2 separate regions of the Homo sapiens genome follow, and region 2 is linked to region 1. Evidence: promoter capture Hi-C in 16 types of primary human blood cells and fetal thymus (Javierre and others, 2016). All regions are on one chromosome and are shown on one strand. The core of a region is centred on a gene start or on the middle of the fragment in contact, and the rest is flanking DNA. Distances in the headings are between cores, read along the strand shown. Region 1 holds the start of TAX1BP1 (Tax1 binding protein 1). Region 2 has its middle 4.1 kb from the start of SKAP2.

Region 1 (7,094 bases), core at 2,342-4,841:
CAAAAGGAATCTTTAATACAAATTCTAATGTAAACCATTGTTCTAAGAAAGGAGAACAACTCATTTGCCTGGCTTTTAAAACCTGTAATGTTTCTAATAAAACATGTCTATTTGAACTTTTTCAAAAATTTTCAATCCATGTTTTGCTATCTAGTTGTCCCATCTGTGCCTTTTAAATTATATTATTCTCACTATGTAAGCCTTTTTTTCATCTTTTCAAATCTTATCAGTCTTTTGAAGTTTAGAGACCAATCTCTTTTACAAAGTCTAGCTAATTTCAAAATTAATTATTCTGTATATCTTTCTACTTTATTTCTCATAGTCCATTTCCTTCAAATTTGACAGTTATCTATACCATCCGGTAACATCTTGACCTGATTTTAAGCAGTTTCAGGGAAGAAACCATGCTTGATTCCTTGTTTTTCCCAGAGCACATAGTAAATGAACAAAATGCTCTTATTAAGAAGCGACATGACACAATGGTGAATGAATGAACTTTGGAGGAAATTATTATTTTTGGTTAACAATTTTCTTCTTGCCTGATTCCCTTGCCCAAGCTCTTAAATCCTGACTGGAAAGTCCTCCTCCTCCATCTCCTCATCGAAATCATACCTCACTTTGACAGTCTAGGCCTGCCTCCCCCATGAAAAGTGTACTGCTAACATAAGCCTGTACTTTCTCCCATCTCTGAATATCTGTCTTCCTATTCATTTACACTTTAGTTACCTACATTTTCATGGGCTCATTTCTTTTCTTCCCTTTGCTATCATAAGTTCCTCTAATGAAAGAACAGTGCCTTTTAAATATAGTCAGCATATTTTCCCAATCAAACACAGGACAACTGCCTAGAAACTACTTGACACTGTAGTTGCTCCAGAAAAATCATGGGTTACTCACTGATTTACTTTCCAATAATTCTCTCAATATTCACCACTTCGAAATCTAAAAAGCTCTGAAAATTGGCCAGGTGCGGTGGCTCATGCCTGTAATCCCAGAAGGAGAATCACTCGAACCTGGGAGGCAGAGGTTGCAGTGAGCCGAAATCTTGCCACTGCTCTCCAGCCTGGGTGACAGGGAAGAGGGCAGAGACCCCGTCTCAAAAAAAAAAAAAAAAAGAAAAAGCTCTGAAAATCAAATGTTTTCTCAACATTTGGTGGCAAAACCTGTTTGACCTGACTCATTTGTCATTAAAACTTGACCTGAACCCAAGGGCAAAGTGGCAGAACCTGACCTGAAAAACTTGACTTGAGTGAGACTATACATTTCATTTATCTTAGTGTGATATTCATAATTGTTCCGGAAAAAAAAGTTGACTGTGGGTGCTGCCCCAGATAGTGAGGAATGTCACATAAAGCACACCTCTCTAAAGTCTGAAAAATTCTGAATTCTGAAATCCATCTGGCAGAAAGATTTCACTTAAAGGAAGTGAATCCATATCTCTTCTAGCCATAGTCCACTGCCATACAAATAAGAGGCTAACTTTAAGAAATTCAATTAAAGCCGGGTGCGGTCTCTCATGCTTGTAATCCCAGCACTTTGGGAGGCTGAGGCAGGCAGATCACCTGAGGTCAGGAGTTGGAGACCAGCCTGGCCAACATGGAGAAACCCCGTCTCTACTAAAGATATAAAAATTAGCCCAGTGTGGTGGTGTGCGCCTGTAATCCTAGCCACTGGGGAGGCTGAGGCAGGAGAATTGCTTGAATCTGGGAGGTGGAGGTTGCAGTGACCCGAGATCATGCCACTGCACTACACCCTAGGTGACAGAGCGAGACTCTGTCTCAAAAAACAAACAAACAAAAAACCCAAACCCTACTCCCCCAAAACCCAGAAATTCAATTAAATACTAAGAGGGTATCTATTTATCTTGGTGGGAAAAACTTGGTCTAAAAATTAAAGGATCATTATTAAAATGAATGAAGCAAGCTAAAATTCCAGAACAAATACCTTCCTGGGGAAAATAAGGTCTAAAAATTCAAGAAATAATTAAAAATAACAAAGTAAAAATACCTGTGAAAATGTCCTTTGAGACCAGCCTGACCAACACGGCGAAACCTCCTCTCTACTAAAAATACAAAAATTAGCCAGGCGTGGTGGCTGGCTCCTGTAATCCCAGCTACTTGGGAGGCTGAGGCAGGAGAATTGCTTGAACCCGGGAGGCGGAGGTTGCAGTGAGCCGAGATCGCGCCACTGTACTGCAGCCTGAGCAACAAGAGCGAAACTCCGTCCCTCTCAGGGCAAAAAAAAAAGTCTTTCAATTATGGTTTTTATTAAGCATACTGTTTTTCTGATTTCATTAACTGAAAATTAGTGGTAATTAAAAATGTATTACATATAAATAGGAATGTGATTTAAACAAAGAGTGACATCTCTGACAAATTGTGCTTATAAAATTCACTGCTATGTTTACATTTCTTAAGGGACACAGTTATTTCTACTACCAGAAGGTTGCTACCAGTAACGCAAGTGATAACTTATGTTGATTATTCACACCGTTTTCTTCATCCATAAAATAAGGAGACTGGGACTAAATGGCCTATTAAGGTTCTTCTGAAATTCTATGATCAAGTATAATACCCAGCACAAGACCAAGTTCAAAAATGTCAATACACAGGAAACAAATCAGTCTGTAAATATTGAGAACCTATGTTATCAAAGCTAATGTCTTCTGAAATAACTGGAAGTAAAGATGAAAGTATATGAAAGATAATTTTGAATGTTCTGTATTTAGAATGTGCTTCAACATTTAATGCGATCTAATTTACATATCCTTTCTGGTGCTATTGCAAGGTTTGTCAGGGTTTTACGGCAACAGAAGACTATGATGAATTCGAATGGGACACATTTGCTTCTGTGGAGTTACGATTCAAACTGAATGTCCAATATAGGAAGGCAACATATACAACAAGCAAAAGTGATTTTAGAAATAACAGAACGCGGGAGAAAATTCACACACGGAAAATGATACGGATAACAAAAGCAGGTAACTCACAGAAATGCGGCTAGAAAAGAGGCCTCTGCTGGAGCGAGAGCAAATAGAATCAGAGGGCATTAGAACTGAAAAGCTCCTAGGAGCTTTCAGTGAACAAAACTTCATAGCCAAAAAAGCACACGACTGGGCCAGGAGTTCAGAGACAGTCTTGGTGCTCAGGGGTTTGCAGCCCTAGCCGTGTGGTCACTCCCTTGCTTCTCTGGCTATTTCCTTATCTATAAAATGAGTGGGCTAGTTTAGGCCGACTGAGACGCAGACAGGGATACGGTACTGTCCATGGACCTCTGAGCTGCCCTTTCCACATCGCTGGTGAGTTACTTAAACCTCCTGTGTGTTTCCCCCTTTCGTATGTCAAAATAATAACATAAAATCAGAATGTAAATCCAGACGCATTGTTTTGCTGCGATTAAGTTGAACGAAAATAGCAAGGACGAAGTAAGGAGAGAGCCAGCCTACCCGCGGGATGAGGCGTCCCGCGGCGGAGTGGGCTGGGGGCGTGTCGTCGCGGAGGGGAGCGGCGAACCAGGCAGGAGGCGGAAGAGACCGCCCCGTGGGCGGAAGTGACGCAAGGCCTACTGTCGGCTGGGAGGGGAGGTGTAGCCGGTCTTTGGGGGTAGGCGGTAGTGGCGGAAGAGGTTCGGCGGCTGATGGCGGATCAGGATCGGAAGCCTGCGTAACTTTCTCCCTTGATCCGGGAGTCTTTCCACTGGGTAAGGCGCCTCCCCGGTCCACCCCAGCGCCTTGTGCGGGGCGGCCTCCAGCTGCATCTCTTTTAGGGCTCGTGCTACACCCTTCAGCCCCTGTACTGTAGGGGCCTGGCCGGTCTCGGGAGAGGTCTCTGTGGTGACGAGGCTTTCCTTCCCGAAGACAAACCTTCCTTTCCAGACTGCGATTGTGACGGGGGTGTGGGCGACTCGGATCAGCTGTGGAGTTTTGGAATGGCAACGGGTGGCCGCCCCACGCGGTGGGAGGCCCGTGGGACAGGCCTTCGCGATTTGGGGGAGGCGTGTGGGACGGGGGCCCTTTGGCTGGGGACGAGTGACGCTGGCGACCCCCGAAGGAAAAGCTTCTGGTGTCCAAGGCTAAACTCTGGGGTGACTGTTTTGAGGGCAGTGTGGGTTTTACCGGCGCAGTAAGCTGAGAAAACACGTAGGTCGCGTCCGAGAAGGACGCTGGGGTTTGCCTTTGCGGAGAGAAACCCAGCTGTTTTGGTTTGAGTCGCCGGTGGCGAAGGGGGCGGAGACTCCCTGCGCCGCCTACTTTTGAGGGCCGCGGGCGGAGTTGGCGGTTCTGGCTGATGGCCTGCTTCACCTGGAATCCATTCCCCACCCCGCCCCGTTCGCAAGGTGTGGACTAGTCCCGACCGACTTGCACTCCTGGCTTAGGGAATCTGTGGCTAGAGTTTAGCGTGCGCGCGCGCGCGTACACCTTATTAGTAAAAAATTGAGCTTAGCGTGCGTCTGTGTGGGTGTGTGTACACACCTTATTGGTAAAAGTTTTGTTAGAAAACACTGGCATTTGACTTTAGACATACACAGTGTTAGATTTCCGGTTTCACACAGTGGTTATGAATTGCTATTATGTTAGGCTTTAGATGGGAAAATAAATCTTGATTTTTCAGCTGTCTGCATTCTGCTAATGTTAAAATTTCTACGAGCTGTGCACGAACAATTAATAGTTACAAGTTTGGTGCTCAATTCCTAAAGGATTTAAAGAGATCATTTGAATAGAAACTAAAAGTGGGTCGATCGTCCTCAAAGTGCTTTTCGGGTTTAGGGAAGGAGCTTAGGACAGCCTTTCTCTTTCGTTCTGTTCCTTTCAAGGGTAAACTTGAAGGATTGTTTGATGATGCCGACTTCTAATAAGGTTTTATTTATTTTTCAAACTGATTGTTCAACTTCAAAGAACATTGTAGTTTTTGTTTTCTAGTCATCACGTTCTTTTTTTTTTTTTTTCCTTGAGATGGAGTCTTGCTCTGTCTCCCAGGCTGGAGTGCAGTGGCGCGATCGCGGCTCATTGCAACCTCCGCCTCCCAGGTTCAAGCGATTCTCCTGCCTCAGCCTCCTGAGTACCTGGGATTACAGGCGCGCACCACCACACTGAAGGGGTGGGTTGCCCCTCCACACCTGTGGGTGTTTCTCGTTAGGTGGAATGAGAGACTTGGAAAAGAAAAAGACACAAAGTACAGAGAAAGAAATAAGGGGATCCGGGGAACCAGCGTTCAGCATATGGAGGATCCCGCCAGCCTCTGAGTTCCCTTAGTATTTATTGATCATTTGTGGGTGTTTCTCCGAGAGGGGGCTATGTCAGGGTCACAAGACAATAGTGGGGAGAGGGTCAGCAGACAAACACGTGAACAAAGGTCTTTGCATCATAGACAAGGTAAAGAATCAAGTGCTGTGCTTTTAGATATGCATACACATAAACATCTCAATGCTTTACAAAGCAGTATTGCTGCCCACATGTCCCACCTCCAGCCCTAAGGCGGTTTTTCCCTATCTCAGTAGATGGAACGTACAATCGGGTTTTATACTGAGACATTCCATGCCCAGGGACGGGCAGGAGACAGATGCCTTCCTCTTGTCTCAACTGCAAGAGGCATGCCTTCCTCTTATACTAATCCTCCTCAGCACAGACCCTTTACGGATGTCGGGCTGGGGGATGGTCAGGTCTTTCCCTTCCCACGAGGCCATATTTCAGACTATCACATGGGGAGAAACCTTGGACAATACCTGGCTTTCCTAGGCAGAGGTCCCTGCAGGCTTCCACAGTTTTTGTGTCCCTGGGTACTTGAGATTAGGGAGTGGTGATGACTCTTAAGGAGCATGCTGCCTTCAAGCATCTGTTTAACAGAGCACATCTTGCACAACCCTTAATCCGTTTAACCGTGAGTTTGACACAGCACATGTTTCAGAGAGCACGGGGTTGGTGGTAAGGTCATAGATTAACAGAATCTCAAGGCAGAATAATTTTTCTTAGTACAGAACAAAATGGAGTCTCCTATGTCTACTTCTTTCTACACAGACACAGTAACAGTCTGATCTCTCTTGCTTTTCCCCACACATACCCGGCAAATTTTTGTATTTTTAGTAGAGACGAGGTTTCTCCATGTTGGTCAGGCTAGTGTCGAACTCCTGACCTCTTGATCCGCCTGCCTCGGCCTTCCAAAGTGCTGGGATTACAGGTGTGAGCCACCGCACCCAGCCCATCACGTTCTTAAATTGTAGACCGCTGTTTATAGTTCTCACTGCAGCCATGTTTGTAGAATTAACCAGCAAATACCTTTTCCATAACAAAAGTAAAATTTTGGAATTCAAAGTTTCAACCTTTTTAATAATGTTAAAATAATCATGAAAGATCCTAATGATGCTCCTTGTATACTTCTTTTGGGGACTTTGTTGTATTCTTTTGGAATGGATATGTTAAATCTGGGCTTTATGCATTTCTGTCTTTTTAAAGCTTATTTTGTCCCAAATAAACCTTTAGAAGAAGATAAAAATGTCCTCTACCCTAATATGTGTGGGCCAATATCATAGCATTTTAGAAACCAACTTATAAAAATCTAAAAAGTAAATAAAAGTGGTGCGGGTGATACCTGGGCGGAATGTCTTGGCACTCAGGTGTAAAGGATTCTGGAAATAGGGATGTCTGCAAGGGTGCAAATTAATAGACTGGGGCTTTTGCTGTTGCCTCCTAGAAAAATTGCTGATTACATTTTTTGGGAGCAGAGGTCTGTTGAGAGTTGTTAGTCTTTCTTTTTTTGAGCCACAGTGTGAATAATTGGAAACTATTTGAATGCTGGACATTTTTTCCTTTCATATGTTTGTGTGTCCTATCGGATTAAAGTTTGGAGATAATTCTAAAGGTTTTTTAGCTGAAGATGTGAAAAACTTTCAGTAACTCTATCAACCATTACCTGAATTACAACACTTCTAAGGGTACAAAGCGTTCATATTCTAAAATGCAGTGTTTCTGCTACAGTGGGTCATATGTGGAGTGTTACTAATCTGTTTCATTTCTTTATTTGCTTTGGTTTTACTATTACAGAAATTTTCAAACATACACAAAGGAGAATGAACAGTAAAATGAACCGACACTTTACTAA
Region 2 (7,094 bases), core at 1-2,500, 870 kb before region 1:
GTTGTGATTGGCTCTTACATTACTTTTCTACCTAATTCGTATCCTTGGGGTGACAGATTTTCCCCACTACAAGGAAGACTGGGAAGTTCTAAGCACCGTCCTTTGGCAGGAAAAAACAAACAAAACAAAACAAAAAAACAGAAGGCCGAATAGACATTGGCACCACTGTCCATCTACAAGCATCAAAAATAAAATTGCTGGTGGTGGTTAGTAGAATAAAATTATAAAATCTGCTCACTCCAACTTGACCATTTAGTCAACAAATACTTACTGTCTTCTATCTGTAAAGCTTCTTAAAAGTTTTCTCTTTTAAAAAAAATGGCTTCTTTAAAACCTTTAACAGGCATACATCTTTGTGCTTCCCAGATATTGCATTTTTTAACAAATTGAAGGTTTGTGGCAACCCTGCATCAAGCAAATCTGTGGGCGCCATTTTTCCAAAAGCATGTGCTCAGTTCATGTCTCTGTCACATTTTGGTGATTCTAACAATATTTCAAACTTTTTCATTATTATTGTATATGTTATGGTGATCTTTGAAGTTACTATTATAATTACTTTGGGACATCACAAACAGCACCCATATAAGACAGCGACTGTAATCCATAAATGTGTGTGTTCTGACTGCTCTACCAACCCTATACCTTCCTCCATATCTCTCCCTCTCTTGGGCCTCCCCATTCCTTGAGACACAACAATATTGACATTAAGCCAATTAATAACCCTACGATGGCCTCTGAGTGTTCCAGTAAAAGAATCATTTTACTTTAAATCAAAAGCTTACTTTAAATCAAAAGCTAGAAATGATTAAGCTTAGTGAGGAAGGCATATTGAAAGCCGAGACAGACCAAAAGCTAGGGCTCTTGCACCAAACAGCCAGGTAGTGAATGCAAGGGAAAAGTCCTTGAAGGAAAGTAAAAATGCTACTCCAGTGAACACACGAATGATAAGAAAGCGAAGGAGGCTTATTGCTGGTAAAGAAACGTTTTCATGTTCTGGATAGAAGATCAAACCAGACATAACATTCCCTTAAGCCAACGCCTAATCGAGTGCAAGGCCCTAACTCTCTTCAAGTCTACGAAGGCTGAGAGGTAAAGAAGCTGCAGAAGAAAAGTTGGAAGTTAGCAGAGGTTGGTTCATGATGTTTAAGGAAATAAGCCATCTTCAGAGCATAAAATTGTAAGGTGAAGCAGCAAATGCTGGTGAAGCAGCTGCAGCAAGTTATCAAAAAGATCTAGCTAAGGCCAGGTGCAGTGGCTCATGCCTGTAATCCTAGCACTTTGGGAGGATGAGGCGGGCGGATCATGAGGTCAGGAGATCGGGACCATCCTGGCTAACACAGTGAAACCCCGTCTCTACTAAAAAAAAGATACAAAAAAAAAAGAAAATTAGCCGGGTGTGGTGGCAGGCGCCTGTAGTCCCAGCTACTCGGGAGGCTGAGGCAGGAGAATGGCGTGAACCCAGGAGGCAGAGTTTGCAGTGAGCCAAGATTGCGCCACTATACTCCAGCCTGGGCGACAGAGCGAGACTCCATCTCAAAAAAAAAAAAAAAAAAAAAAAAATCTAGCTAAGATATCTGATGAAGGTGGCTATACTAAACAAAGAGTTTCAGTGTAGATGAAACAACACTTATTGGAAAACAATGCCATCTAGGACTTTCGTAGCTATAGAGTAGAAGTCAATGCCTGGCTTCAAAGCTTCAAAGGACAGGCTGATTCTCTTCTTAGGAACTATTTCAGCTGCTGACTTTAAGTTGAAGCCAATGCTCATTTACCATTCTGAAAATCCTAGGGCCCTTAAGGATTATGATAAATCTACTCTGCCTGTGCTCTATAAGTGGAACAACAAAGCCTGGATGACAGCACATCTGTTTACAGAATGATTTACTGAGTATTTTAAGCACACTGTTGAGATCTACTGCTCAGAAAAAAAGATGCCTTTCAAAATATTGCTGCTTATTGACAATGCACCTGGTCACCCAAGAGCTCTGATGGAGATATACAAGAAGATTAATGTTTTCATGCCTGCTAGTACCACATCCATTCTGCTGCCCATGGATCAAAGAGTAGTTTCAACTTTCAAGTCTTATTTAAAAAATACATTTCATGGCTGGCCATGGTGGGTTACACCTGTAATCCCAGCACTTTGGGAGGCTGAGGCAGGAGGATCACTTGAGGCCAAGAGTTCAAGACCAGCCTGGGCAACATAGTGGCACCCCATCTCTACAAAAAAAAAAAAAAAAAAAAAAAAAAAAAGAATAATTAGCCAGGTGTGGTGGTGTGTGCCTGTAGTCCTAGCTACTCATGAAGGTGAGATGTAAGGATCCCTTGGGCCCAGGAGTTCAAGATTACAGGGAGGTATGACTGTGCCAGTGAACTCCAGCTTGGGCCACAAATGAGACCCTATCTTAAAAAAAAAAAAAAATATATATATATATATATACACACATATATATACATATATATACATATATATATACACACATATATATATACATATATATACATATATATACCTATATATACATATATATATACATATATATATATATTATATGGCTATAGTTGCCATAGATAGTCATTTATCTAATATATCTGGGCAAAGTAAATTGAAAACCTTCTGAAAAAGGTTCACCATTCTAGATGCAATTAAGAATATTCATGATTCATGGGAAGAGGTCAAAATGTCCAACATTAACAGGAGTTTGGAAGAAGTTGATTCCAACCCTCAGGGATGATTTTGAGGGGTTCAAGACCAGTGGAGGATGTGGTGGAAATAGCAAGGGAACTACAGTTAGAAGTGGAGCCTGCAGATGTGACTGAACTGCTGCAATCTCATGGTAAAACTTGGAGGTATGAGGAGTTGCTTCTTATGAATGAGCAAAGAGAGTGGTTTATTGAGATGAAATCTACTCCAGTGAAGATGCTGTGAATACTGATGAAATAATAAGAAAGGATTTAGAATACTACGTCAACTTAGTTGATAAAGCAGTGGTTGGAGAGGATTGACTCCAGTATTGAAAGAAGTTCTACTGTGGGTAAAATGCTAGCAAACAACATCACATGCCACAGAGAAATCGTTCATGAAAGGAAGAGTCTCTCAAGGCAGCAAATTTCATTTTTGTTTTATTTTAAGAAATTGCCACAGCCATCCCAGCCTTCAGCAATCACCACCCTGATCAGTCAGCAGCCATTCACATTGAGGCAAGACCCTCCACCAGAAAAAAGATAACATGCTGAAGACTCAGATGATCATTATCATTTTTTAGCAATAAAGTTTTGGGGGTTTTTTAGAGATGGAGGTCTCTCTATGTTTGCCCAGACTGGCCTGGAACTCCTGGGCTCAAAGGATCCTCCCACCTCAGCCTCCTGAGTGGCTTGGGACTACCGGAATGTACCGACATGCCCAGGTGCAATAAAGTATTTTTAAGTAGGTGTGTTAGTTATTTTTCCAGACATAATGCTACTGCATACTTAATAAACTACAGTAAACATAATGCTTATATGCACTGGGAAACCAAAGTATTTGTGTGACTCACTTTACTGCAATAGTTGCTTTATTGGTTTGGTCTAGAACCTAACCTGGAAAATCTGTGAGGTATGCCTGTTTGTGTGTGTGTGTGTGTATACACTCATGTATTTATTACATATATGTACGTATATACATATTTATTACATTCAAGTGCCTCTTAACCATTAAAATCCCTCAAAACCTGGTGCGGAACCATCAACGAAAATGAAGTCGCTGAAATCCCTGAAGAACACAGAATAGAGGCTGAGGAGGAAGGCTTCAGACAGAAACTTCCTAGGCAAAGCATTTAGTGAGTATACACTGTGTATTTCTCTTAGTGAAAATATCATTGACAACATGAGTCATTGAGATGCCCCCTGCCACACCCTCCATCTCTGCTTGGCAAGGCACGTTTTCAAAACCACGCAAATGTCAGCTTCTATATTAAGCCTTCACTTAGATTTCCCTTGGTAGAGATAGTGGCTCTTTCCTAGAAGTTACTATTATATCTTACATTGTTCCTGGGCTCCAGTCACATTGTAAATTGTTTATTCCTTTACCCTCCAACTTTCACTAGATCAAACTATAGTTTTCATTAGAATCACAGAGAGAACCTATTACATTGTGAATTCTCAAATCCCATCCCCAGAGATTCTGAGTCAGTCTTTTTAGGGTGGGGCCTGAGAATCTGCGTGTTAAACAATCCTCAGCTGTAGCTCATGCCTGTAATCCTAGCACTTTGGGAGGCTGAGGTGGGTGGATTGCCTGAGCTCAGAAGTTTGAGACCAGCCTGAACAACATGGTGAAACCCCATCTCTACTAAAATACAAAAACTTAGCTGGGCGTGGTAGCATGCACCTGTAGTCCCAGCTATTCGGGAGGCTGAAGCAAGAGAATTGCTAGAACCTGGGAGGTGGAGATTGCAGTGAGCCGAGATTGCGCCACTGCACTCCAGCGTGGGGCAACAGAGCAAGACCCTGGCACTGAAAAAAAAAAGTCCTCATAGGTGAATGCAAGACATCATGAAATTTCATTTTAAGAATCACTTTGCTACTTCCCAGCTCCTACAGGGCACAAAATTTGTTGTAACTTATCTTTCATCCTCAGCTGGAACCCTAAACCTAACACAGAATAACAACTTTATTAATAGTTCATCAAAAACACTTCAGACAGTCTAATAAAAAATTAGAAAGTCAAATGCAGTATGACATTTTTGTGTAATTCTCTGAGATAAAAGTAAACTAGTTATAAAAGAAAAAATAGAGCATTTTCGAGTCTGTATCTTGCCTCTCAAAACAAACAAACAAATAAAAGACAAAAACTTTACGGCTGAAGTAAAACATGCAAAAATAACAACAAAAAAAGACACCCCTGCAAACAAACCCATTCCCCAAAATGGAATCTGAAATTCCTACCCAGATTTTAAAATGTGATGAATTATAGAAAGAGCACTGAAAATTTGAATTGTTTTTGGTGGAGGTAAAAGTAAATAAATAGTCATTTTACAATATACGTCTTCCAACTTCAAAGAATTGAGAACTATTTTTCTTAAGCTACAAAATTATCTTCCTTCCTAAAGAAGAAAACAACTATTTCATGGACATTTTATATTAGGGAGGATTCTTCCTCCTTCTACAGTTATCACACATAATTCTTTGTCTTGTCACATTTTTTATTAAACCAGGTTTCCAAATGTCCCAATCCTTTGTTTCCTTCTGATAGAACTGAACCTGTTTTTAAATTCCTGTGTCTCATTTATTTACTTATACTCCACTCATTCCACTAAGGAATTGAGGTGATTTGCTCTTGTATCAAATAGACAGCTTTCTGGAGTGGATCAAATGGACAGTGTCTACACTGCTCATTATGACAAGTCATTCTTGTTAGTGAGAGACAGGAAACTATTAAGATTACCTTAAAATATATAGCATCTCATAGTCCAAATAAAAAAAGGCAATAACAGAAAATGGACTTTTTGTGTGAAACACATTTTCCCTATTTAGGAAGCCATTCTCAGACACAGGTCCATGATAGATTCACTTGGGCAATGCTTTGTATAGTCTATCATTTTTACTGTTTATTGTTAAAGTTATTGAAATTGATTATAAGATGGAAAGTGTAATAAAGAGAAGTTAGGAGAAATACATTCTTATTTCTCTTGTTTCCATAACAAAAACCAAGAAGTAAATCAAATCATACTTTACATTCTTTAAACTAGTCATATTAGGTTGAAAAAAAAGAATAATAAATGTAACTTTAAATCTCAACCTAAGAGAGGTAATGGCCTCCCTACCATTCTACAAAGGAGAGACTAGACTCTGATAAAATCTTATGATTTGTCTTCCCAAAAGTAGATCCTCCAGTTCAAAGATATATGTATATATCCCTATAACTGAAGCTAACTGCCTTTCTTATGTTCTTCAAAATTAGCTTAGGGGCACTGAATAAGTATTTTCCCACAGGCCTAGGTTTAAGAGAAGCTAAAAGAGCACCGAAGAAAAATAGAAAGTAAGCCAAACACAATTTACTTTTCTCAGCCTCTCATCTTCATTTTTATTTGGCTTTCATAGGCATGTGGAAGAAAGATTATATTTATACTTAGGCATTATATTAGCTATCTATTGCTGAATAACAAAATTGAGTAGCTTAAAACAAACAGTATCTCACAGTTTCTGGTGGTTAGGAATACATGAGCAGCTTAGCTAGATGACTCTGGCTCAGAGTCTCTCATAAGAACTGCAGTCACCTGAAGACTTGACCATGGCTAGAGAATCTGATTTGATGATGGCTCATCTACAGGACTGCTGACTAGAGTCCTCCATTCCTCTTTGTCTGTTAGAAAAAAGCCTCACTTGTTCACAACATGGACTTCTCCATAAGGCTGCATGAGTATCCTCATGATATGACAACTGGCTTCCCAAAGCAATTAATCCACAAGACAGAGCAACCAAGACAGAAGCTGCAATATCTTTATGACTTAATTTCAAAAGTGACATGACTTTACTGCTGCCATATTTAATTGGTAACACAGACCAAGCCTGCTGAAAAGGGGGAAGGGACTACATAAGGCTGTGAATACTGGAGGTAGAGATCATTGGGGGCCACATTGGAAGCTGGCTATCATAGTAATCCCTCTGACGCCCAATGGTTCACATCCCTCCCACATGCAAAAATACACCGATCCCCTCCCAAAGCCACTTGCAAAGTCTCATCCCATTGTCGCATAGTCTCAAAGTCCAGAATCTCATCATTTAAATGAAGCTCAGGTGTGGATGGTGCTCCTCTGGTTTAATTCCTTAAATACGGCTCTTTGAGGCCAGTGCAGTGGCTCACGCTTATAATCCCAGCACTTTGGGAAGCCGAGGCAGGCGGATTACCTGAGGTCGGGAGTTCGAGACCAGCCTGACCAACATGGAGAAACCTCGTCTCTATTAAAAATACAAAAAATTAGCCGGGTGTGGTGGCGTGCGCCTGTAATCCTAGCTAATCAGGAGGCTGAGGCAGGAGAATCACCTGAATCTGGGAGCTGGAGGTTGTGGTGAGCCTAGATCGTGCCATTGCGCTCCAACCTGGACAACAAGAGCAA

The links. Contacts are between HindIII fragments. The CHiCAGO score rates a contact against its expected background, and 5 or more counts as called.
Region 2: a contact is called between a fragment that was not itself captured here and the fragment with the promoter of TAX1BP1 in region 1, in 1 of 17 cell types (fetal thymus). The highest score is 6.5, in fetal thymus.

The regions. Positions count from the first base shown.
Region 1 is chr7:27,736,571-27,743,664 of GRCh38, forward strand. It overlaps TAX1BP1 (Tax1 binding protein 1), which reads left to right and starts at 3,592. Exons shown (of 17, transcript NM_006024.7): 1 at 3,592-3,699. It overlaps TAX1BP1-AS1 (TAX1BP1 antisense RNA 1), which reads right to left and starts at 4,105. Exons shown (of 2, transcript NR_187572.1): 1 at 3,446-4,105. RefSeq lists enhancers at 3,527-4,389, 3,606-3,875, 4,390-5,253 and a silencer at 4,043-4,275. The HindIII fragment of the contact is 7,568 bases long and covers 1-4,053 here.
Region 2 is chr7:26,865,134-26,872,227 of GRCh38, forward strand. No RefSeq gene overlaps it. Among named protein-coding and RNA genes, the nearest start is that of SKAP2, 4.1 kb to the left of the region's middle. RefSeq lists an enhancer at 1-24. The HindIII fragment of the contact is 885 bases long and covers 809-1,693 here.